3 separate regions of the Homo sapiens genome follow, and all the other regions are linked to region 2. The links are contacts of gene promoters, found by promoter capture Hi-C in blood cells and fetal thymus (Javierre and others, 2016). All regions are on one chromosome and are shown on one strand. Each heading gives the region's core, a stretch centred on a gene start or on the middle of the fragment in contact. The rest is flanking DNA. Distances are from core to core; before and after follow the strand shown.

Evidence for each region. Contacts are between HindIII fragments. The CHiCAGO score rates a contact against its expected background, and 5 or more counts as called.
Region 1: a fragment that was not itself captured here is called in contact with the fragment with the promoter of THOC7-AS1 in region 2 in 1 of 17 cell types (monocytes); the score reaches 5.4 in monocytes.
Region 3: a contact is called between a fragment that was not itself captured here and the fragment with the promoter of THOC7-AS1 in region 2, in 6 of 17 cell types (naive B cells, total CD8 T cells, non-activated CD4 T cells and 3 more). The highest score is 7.1, in naive B cells.

Annotation. Positions count from the first base shown.
Region 1 is chr3:63,322,416-63,325,401 of GRCh38, forward strand. The region is part of intron 2 of SYNPR (synaptoporin); the gene reads left to right. Among named protein-coding and RNA genes, the nearest start is that of SYNPR, 46 kb to the left of the region's middle. The HindIII fragment of the contact is 3,760 bases long and covers 1-2,986 here.
Region 2 is chr3:63,859,095-63,862,065 of GRCh38, forward strand. THOC7-AS1 (THOC7 antisense RNA 1) reads left to right here and starts at 1,551. Exons shown (of 2, transcript NR_104326.1): 1 at 1,551-1,902; 2 at 2,405-2,725. The region is part of intron 1 of THOC7 (THO complex subunit 7); the gene reads right to left. The HindIII fragment of the contact is 14,056 bases long and covers 1-2,971 here.
Region 3 is chr3:64,482,288-64,485,273 of GRCh38, forward strand. All of the region lies in intron 3 of LOC105377123 (a long non-coding RNA gene), which reads right to left. Among named protein-coding and RNA genes, the nearest start is that of PRICKLE2-DT, 39 kb to the left of the region's middle. The HindIII fragment of the contact is 1,958 bases long and covers 521-2,478 here.

The sequences.
Region 1 (2,986 bases), core at 325-2,824, 540 kb before region 2:
CACAAAGGTGAATGGCTCTCCTGAAGTCACATAGTTTAGTGTGAGTAAGTCAGGGCTTAAATCCAGGTTGGCCTGCTACCAAAAATGTATACGCTTGACCACTAGCCTATACTGCCTTCACAAATGTAAATTAATTAAAAGTATTTCTGATTATATGGAGGCTTTTATGTAAAGGTCTCAGGTCTTTAATGCTCACAATGATTCTGTGACTTAGGTGGTCCTGTCCCCATTCTACAAACAAAAAACTAAAGCACAAAGACACAAAGTCACTTGTTCACAATCATTCGACCTTCCAGTTTTGGAGCTTAGGTCTGTGTGGGGCCAAAGACATTCAGTCCTCTGCCTTTGAGAACCTCATCATTGAGGCAAATGTAAACATATACAAAGGAATTTGTAAGTTCTTATGTAAGACCCACTCACTCATTGAGAGTAAAATTTTATGGAAGAGACTACAAAATCAAGAATGCAGCAGCCTCTAAGGGCTCTCTGTGCTATAGGGCATTTCTCCTGCTTAGACATTTTCTTAAGGGACAGGGAGAGGCTTTTTATTGAGGGTTGCCCAGTGAGAGCTTCTTCCAGTAGGCACAGCCATGATAAGAGTAGAAGATAAGACTTTAAGCTCCCAAGAGGCCTCTTTTTCAAGATTCAGAAAAGGCACAAAGCAGGACTAGTTTAAGCACATCAGTAAAATTGAAAATAGCAGGGCTCAAGCTGCAGAGTGACTGTGGAGTTTGCTGGGGAAGAGCTTTTGATGTTTGTTTCTTGCCCAACTGAGCGCTTTTGAGTCAACAATCCTTTCTCATAAGGGCATAATACTCAAAACTGGCCCCAGAGGAAATAAGAAAGAGCCAAAGGTAATGCTATGGACTGATCCACTTTCCAATGGAAAGCCAACCTTCTTTCTTTCCACTTCACAGCTTTAATTCCTAAATTTCTGGGCCTTATGGCAAAAAGGGAGAGGGAAAACTGGATGAAATTTATTCAATTCTACAGGCATTTATTGAGTTTCTACTATGGAGTTAATATGAAGATTAAATCCTTGAACTTCATTACTTAGTTGATAAGATAAAACATACACAGGCCAGAAAATCTCAGGTGTGTTGGAAAGTACTTCTTTATACTCCCCAAATAATTTTTTTTTGGCATTGTTTTTTGCTGAGACATGATGGAAGACTTTTGGAGAAGGAAACACTTGAGCATTTGATCAGAGTTCAAAGACTGTAGGACCTGGAGAATTACAAATAAAAGAGTAAGGTTTATAGGGTGGTTCTAGAATAGACAAAGAAAAGAAAAACAAAAGCAAAAATGCAAATAAAATTTAAAATGTACATTCAAAGAGAGTATATTAAAATAAGGTGATAATAGGACAGGAAATTATATTTACTTTTCCTTAGCACTTTGTTCCAAGAATTGTTGTTTTTCACATGCATTCTCTCATTTAATACTCACAACATTCCCATGAGGCAGTTATTATTATTTCCATTTTACTGAGAAGGACAGTGAAGCCCAGCATGATGAATAACTTGCCCAACTTGCACAATAAGTAGCAGAGTCAGCATTTAAACTCAGTCTTATTACAAAGTCCTAATGTTTAGCCACCTATAGTATACTGCTTCAATAAGCATGGCAGCTGGAATATTGGCCAATAATGAAAAATGATGCTGAAAATTTAATTGCAATTATTGTAACTGTCACTTGTGTCTAATGAGTATTTTCAGTGCAAAGGTACTAGGCAAATTATTTTTATTTAACTCAATCCCTACAACAGTTGTGTAAGTATTATTAATCTCATTTTAAGATGAGTGAACTGAAAGAGTGGCCACCTTGATGAAAAGATATTAAGAAAGCAGAGAACCTGAGCTTTGAACTAGTATCAGTGACCTCAACCTGAACTCTTAACCATTACAATGTATGGCTTCTCAAGACTGGGATCAGACAATAAAGAGCCTTGAAGGCTAAGCCAGGAAATTTGCATTTATCCTGTAGCCAACGGGGAAACACTGAAAGTTTGTGAGCTGGGAGGTGACATGGCTTGATTTGGGCTTTTGGAGGATTAATCTGGAATCAGCATAAGATAGATTATAGAATGGAAAATCAGAACAGAGGGACCAATTATGGGACTACTGCACCAGTCCATGTAAGACGACTTATCCAGTGAGATGTGTGGTCCAGGTGAGTGGTCTTGAAAGCCCAATATAGACTACTAAGAGGAGAGAAAGGAAATATATAGTATTGGGTTTATAAATTACAAGAGTCCTCTTTGGTGCTTTGAAATCTGGATCTCCTACTAGAAAGGGAAGCTGCCTGCAGTGGAATCTGCTCACCAGGCAGCAAGTTGAGCTAGCTATTTAGTATGGAGAGGACCTGGAGCTGTGATTACCAGACACTGGGTTGCAGCTGCAGCCACCCAGAATTAGCCTGGCCAGATGGTGACGGGTAACTGACTGTTCTACACGGACCTCAGGAGAGAGCACAACAAATACCACAAGCAAGAGGCACATGTTTTCCTATGAACATATCAGAAAATTTTCTTTGAGAGTTTCTGATTCTCTCAAGGCATTTTTCCCTCATAATGCCTCAGTTACACTAACTCAGGTTGAGAATGGTGAAGAATGCTTTATGAAAATCAGAGTTGTTTTTTAATGAGGCCATCTGGTGAGCCTTCTGCATTTATATCCTCTTCTCCCAACAGGTTAGAAGCTGAAAAATTCTCTGCTAGTATAGTATTAGTAGAAATTATTTATAGTATGGCAGAACAGCCACTGTAATTACAACTTAATTCTTAGGTGACAAGAGACAGAACGTTAATTAGATCTTGCAGATAATAGTAATGACCATTCACATGTACCAAGCATTTGCTCACATGTAATAGGTATGAATTCTTAGCATCACTCACTTGGGGTACACAAGAAACATAATTTTCATTAGTTTCTTTAATAAAATAATTTGAACCTACAACCTACCTAGTGGTCAGAACATCATCTAC
Region 2 (2,971 bases), core at 301-2,800:
ATGAGATATCAAGAGCATCCACTTCTATCTTCCACACTAACATCGCTCTAATCCAAGCCCACATTTCTCTCATCTGGAATATTTTGCATTGGACTCCCTGTTTCCATTCTTGCCTTCCTAGAATCCATTTTTTATGCAACTCAGAATGATCTAAAAGATGAATTGGATCACTAACTCTCCTGCTTACAATCCTCCTATCATTTCTAAATGCCCACAAAGGACAATTCAGTCTCCTTTCCAAAGCCTGCAAGGCTCCTCCTGAGCTCCCTTTTACCTCCTTTTGCATCGTACTCCTCTTGGCCCACCTGGATGCAGTCCTGTCCCTAGATCCAGCCCAGTGGCTTTCCTTATTTCCTCTAAAGGGTGCAGAGCTTGTTTTCACCTCGGGCCTTTGCACTAGTTGTTGTCTCTATCTGGAATACTTTCCTGGGCTCTTCATGTGGTTGAACCTGTCAGGTATCACTGCCCTCCCCCATTACTCTCTGTCCTCATTCCATCAAGTTCATTCTCAGAACTTAATTACATTCCTTTTCAGAAATTATCTTATTTACTTATTTGATTGCACACTATGGCTTCTTTCCCCAAAGCAGGGGCCAGGGCCCTCCTCTGTCTAGTTCACTGCAAAGTAGCCAGGACCTCGCATTGTGCCTAGAAGGTATGCAATAAATACTTGTTGACGGATCACACATACCACTCATTTCAGCTTGATTTTTTCAAAAGCTCAGCTGACAAAAACCATGTTTATAGAGGATTGTCTGAAGAAGTTGTAGTTTGTCTTTCCTCTATGGTCTAGATATTCAATCAAAAAACCCTGATTTGAATCAAGCCAGATCAGCAGAGCTACCCACTACCCACCTAAACCACATTGTCCATTGATTTTATTTATTTATTTTTAGACAGGGTCTAGCACTGTTGACAGGCTGGAGTGCAGTGGTGCAATCATGGCTCGTTGCAACCTCAAACTCCTGGGCTCAAGTGATCCTCCTGCCTCAGCCTCCTGAGTAGCTGGGACTACCTACAGGTGTGTTCCACTCCACCTGGCTAATTTAAGAAAATTTTTAGTAGAGATGAGTAGCTGAGACTACAGGTGCACACCACCACACACGCCTGGCTAATTTGAAAAATTCTGTAGTATAGATCATGTCTTGCTGTGTTGCTTAGGATGGTCGCAAACTCCTGGGCTCACGTGATCCTCCTGCCTTAGCATCCCAAAGTGCTAAGATTGATTACAGGTGTGAGCTACCACACCCAGCCTCTACTGGCTTTAGAATGTCTTTCTAAATTGTGATTTAGCCTTCTTTTACCTAGCAAGGGATGTGCTACAAAACAGCTCTATGATCTTCAGTGCTGAAAAGAGGTTAAGGATATGACACTGGCTTTCATTTATAAAGACCTCAATGATAAACTTTTCCTCTAGTTCAAATCAGAAAAAAAAAGTGCTTTTCCTGGGCATCTAAGATTGCCTTCTCTCATGAACACTAGATCACAGAGCAGACGAGGTCCTGCCTCTCAGAATGGCCTACTGGAGAAACAGGTCACTTACAGCTTGGTTAATTAATGTACTAGACTTTATCCTCCTGCATTTTGAGGATCACCCCACTTCTGACTTCCCTTTATTTTTCCTAATCTCAATGTTCTTTTTGTCTTGTTTTCTAATCCGTTTAATTTTTATATTTTCTCATTACAGTGAACTGCCTTAAATGTTTTCTAGCATAAGGCATATAAATAACGTATTAAGGGTGACAGCAGCAATATGCATAAAATAATATGGCTAGTAGGCAGAAGGTCAACTACTTCTAGGAAAGAAAAGAGGGGATTTTTGAGGTGGGTCTTGAGGAATAAGTGGAGTGTCACCTGATAGAAAAGGCAGGAAAAGGCAACCTGTGCAGATTAAGAGAGAAGGCAAAGTCCACATCAAAGGAAAGTGGAAGACAGATTAGTAAAACAACTCTGACATTAATATTTACTGAATATTAATTATTATGTGTTGGACTCAATGCAAAGCCCTTTACAACTTTTTGTGTTTAATCCTCAAAACAATCCGCTGATGTGGATTTTATTATTATCTCCGTTCAGAGACTGAAGCTGAGACAGTCTGTAAGTGGCAGGGTAGAGATTCCTGTGGCTTTTAAGGATGTGGGGGGGCACTTGACTGCAGTCATTACTTTAGAACTCATCTTCTGTCCCTATCTCCCATCTGACAAAGCCTGTTGCTCCTTTGGACATCTCAATCTCAATAAATAGAAAAGTAGCACTAACAGGCACACAGTGAAGTCAAAAACCTGGGATCATCCTAAATCCCTTCTCCCACCATCCATTCAATACCTGAAGTCCTGACATTCTACCTCACAAATTTCCCTATTTCCCTCCCACCTGTCCTCTTTGCATTCCCTCTTGGTCACAGTCCTCATTGTCTCTCACCAGGGCCACTGCAGAAGTAGCAGACACAGGACGCATAATAGTGAAGAGCAGGAACTCGGCAGGTGGTCTCCCTGCCTTTGACCCTCTATAACTACTATCTGTGCGACCTTAGGCAAGCTAACCTGTGTCTGTTTCATCTGTAAAATGGGGATAACAATTAGAATAATACCTAACAGCACTACGTAAACGTTAGTAAGTGGCGAGGAAACTTAGCTCCTCATTTTCTCTTCCTCTAATCATTCTGCACATAACAGAGACAGTGTGTATGTGTGTGTGTGTTTTTTTTTTTTTTAATGAGACACGGTCTCACTCTGTCACCCAGACTGGAGTGCACTGGCGCGATCTTGGCTCACTGCAGCCTCAACCTCCCAGGCTCAAGTGATCCTTTCTCCTCAGACTCCCAAGTCCTGGGACTACAGGTGTGTGCCACTGTGCCAGACCAATTTTTTTGTATTTGTAGACATGGGGTCTCACTATGTTTTCCAGGCTGGTCTTGAACTTCTGAGCTCAAGAGGTCCGCCTGCCTTGGCCTCCCAAAGTGTTGGGATTA
Region 3 (2,986 bases), core at 250-2,749, 620 kb after region 2:
GAACAGGATGCTCTGGAGGAGAGGGGCTTGGTCTTAACTGGGTCAGAGCCAGGTTAGGAAATGGACCAGCAGCCCAGGGGGCCAGTCCACAAGGACCACTACACATCACTGGGATACTTTGGAAATAAGATGTCTATTAACTCAGATTTTTCTTAAACCACAGGTGGAATGCAAATTGGTCCCAATATTGACTAGAAATTATCTTCAGATAGAAGCAAATGGCAGTGTCAGCCAATGCAGACCTACCTCTGGAGAAAATGTTTGCCACTAGCTTTTATAAACTGCAAGATTCAACTATGGAACATGCAAGAATTGCCAACTGACCATCACTTAAAAACAAAATCTGGATAGATAAAATTTTGGAAGTGAGAAATGCATGATATAGTGCTGCTTCCTGGGGGGCCAGTTGTTTTGTTATTTATACTTTGAACCTTTAAAATCTTTTGGCGCAGCATGCTGGCTCATGTCTGTAATCCCAGCACTTTGGGAGGCCAAGACAAGCAAGTAACTTGGTCCCAGAAGCTTGAGACCCACCTGGGCAACATGTGAAACCTTGTCTCTACAGAAAAAACACAAAAATAGTCTGGGTGTGGTGGTACATGCCTATAGTCCCAGCTACTTGGGAGGATGAGGTGGAGGATCATCTGAGCTCCAGAAAGTTGAGGCTGCAGTGAGCTGAGATCTCACCATTGCACTCCAGCCTCGGCAACAGAGTGAGACCCTGTCTCAAAAAACAAACACACAAAACAAAAGAGAGAGAGAGAGAGAGAGAATAAACTTTCTAAGCAGTTGTCTGATTTGTGAAATTGCAAAAAAAAATTTGAAGAGGGGGCACAGAAAAGGAGGAAGTGTTCTTTAGTCAGTGAATAGATGAAAGGAATTTGTATTGAACACACACGTTATTCACTTGAACACATTTGTTCTCTGTCCCCATCGAATACAGGCTGAAGAAATATTTAGAGAATTCTGGCTTGAAAGGGTAAAAAACTAACAACCTGCCCCAGTCAGTCCCCCATGGTTACTGAACTCTGGAAGATTTTGCTGGAGAAGTCTGAGAGTCCAGTTCTACAATTTTACACAATTTGTTAAATGTAAAACATTGCTTTGGCTTCACTTACTGATTTTCCTTTCTCTCCCATTTCTGACTAACTCAAATTTACTGGGTGCCTGCTATATGCCAGGATCCAAATGTTGAACATAACTTATTTTGTTTCATACCCAAGGGGCTGTAAAGGACACACAGACTGTGAGCGCAGACACATTTTAGACTTGCACTGTCCAATACGGTAGCCACTGGCCACATATGGTTATTGAAATTTACATTTATTGTAATTAAGTAAAATTTAAAATTCAATCTCTCAGTTGCACTAGCTATGTATTAAGCACTCAATAGCCACATGTGGTTATGACTATGCTGCTGGACAGCACAGTTATAGAGCATTTCTATCACTGCAGAGAGCACCATTGGATAGCACAGTTTTAGACCTTTCAGAGTTGTCTCTACCTCCTGTGAAATCATTTTAAGCAGAAAAGCTGCCATTCATTGAGCACTCCTCTGGGCCAAGCAAGCAAGATTCTGGGTCAGTTACATAAGATCATCTCACCACAGCTCACTGCCTCACGTCTCAACGCATTTTAATTTTTTTTTTTTTTTTTTTGTAGCGCCGTGGTCTCACTTTGTTGCCCAGGCTAGTATCGAACTCCGGGCTTCGAGCAGTCCTTCTGCCTCAGCCTCCCAAAGTGCTGGGATTACAAGAGTGAGCCATTGGGCCCAGCCTCACCCCATTTTAGAGATGAGGAAACCTGAGGATAGAGAGGCCAAGTAGCTTTCTTACCATCGCACAGCAAGTGAGCGGCAAAGCCCAGGGCGTTTGACTTTAAAGGCTTTGATAATTCTGATGGCCCCACCTTCCAAGGGCATTACCCCCAAGTGTGAGTGAGAGCACCACTGTGGACAAGAAAGAGCCGCTGGGGATCCTGGCCCTTTTGACAGGAAAAGTGGCCATGGGGTCAGACAGGCTAGAGGACCAAGGCTGGTTCTGCCAATGACCATGTCAGTGACATTGCCCAAGCCACTTAGATCTCTGAATATATGTACAGTGGTGGAGCTCACCTTGTAGAGCTATGAGGATTAAATGAGAATATACACATAAGCACTTGGCACAGTATCTGGCACACAGTAGCCATTTAGTACATGGCACACATGAGTATTACTTCCGGAGTGAATCCTTTTCTTCTGTTTAAGCAGCAAACAGCAAGAGTTGCCTTGCTCCCTGCAATACACATTTCTGAGTCTGGCATGCCACCTGCTGGTCACTCCTGGATATACCATCCAGTCCCCTGTTCTCCCCAGAAGGGCCAGTGCCCAGAGTGTTCCCAGGAGACTGGGCTGTAAAACAGGAACATCCTAGCTGAGTATTCAGATTTTTTTTTCGTAAAGTCCCTTTCACATTGTGGCTCCTCTGAGAACTTAGGATAAGCTTAGATCTTGCTAAGTTTGCTGAAATCTTCTTTGTTGCCAGGCAGATAGAGAAGATGGACTTCTTTGGGGCCCTGTGCTCAACGTTAGGCTATGTTGCCAGGGTCTTCTAGCTGCAGGCTATCTAAAAGCACAGGGTCTTTACTATTATGGCTGGCATTCCCTTCGATCTGATGCTGAATATAAGTCCCACCTCTCCACCCCATATCCTATCAATCTAAAAGTCCTGTTGGGTTTTTCTCTGTGAAATATATTTAAAATCTGTCTAAGCCCCTTCATATTCTCTGCCACCATCATCCCTCACCTGGACCACTGCATTAGCCTCCTGATCTTCTTGCATCTCCTCCCTTCCCCCTGTTGTCTATTCTTCACGCAGCAGCTAGAGCTGTGGTCCTACCTGCTGTAGCTATGGAATGCCTTGGGGAACATTCAAGACCTACCAACACCCAGGGGCCAAACCCTGACTAATTAAATCAGAATCTAGGGGTAGTGGGTAGAAGGTCTCTC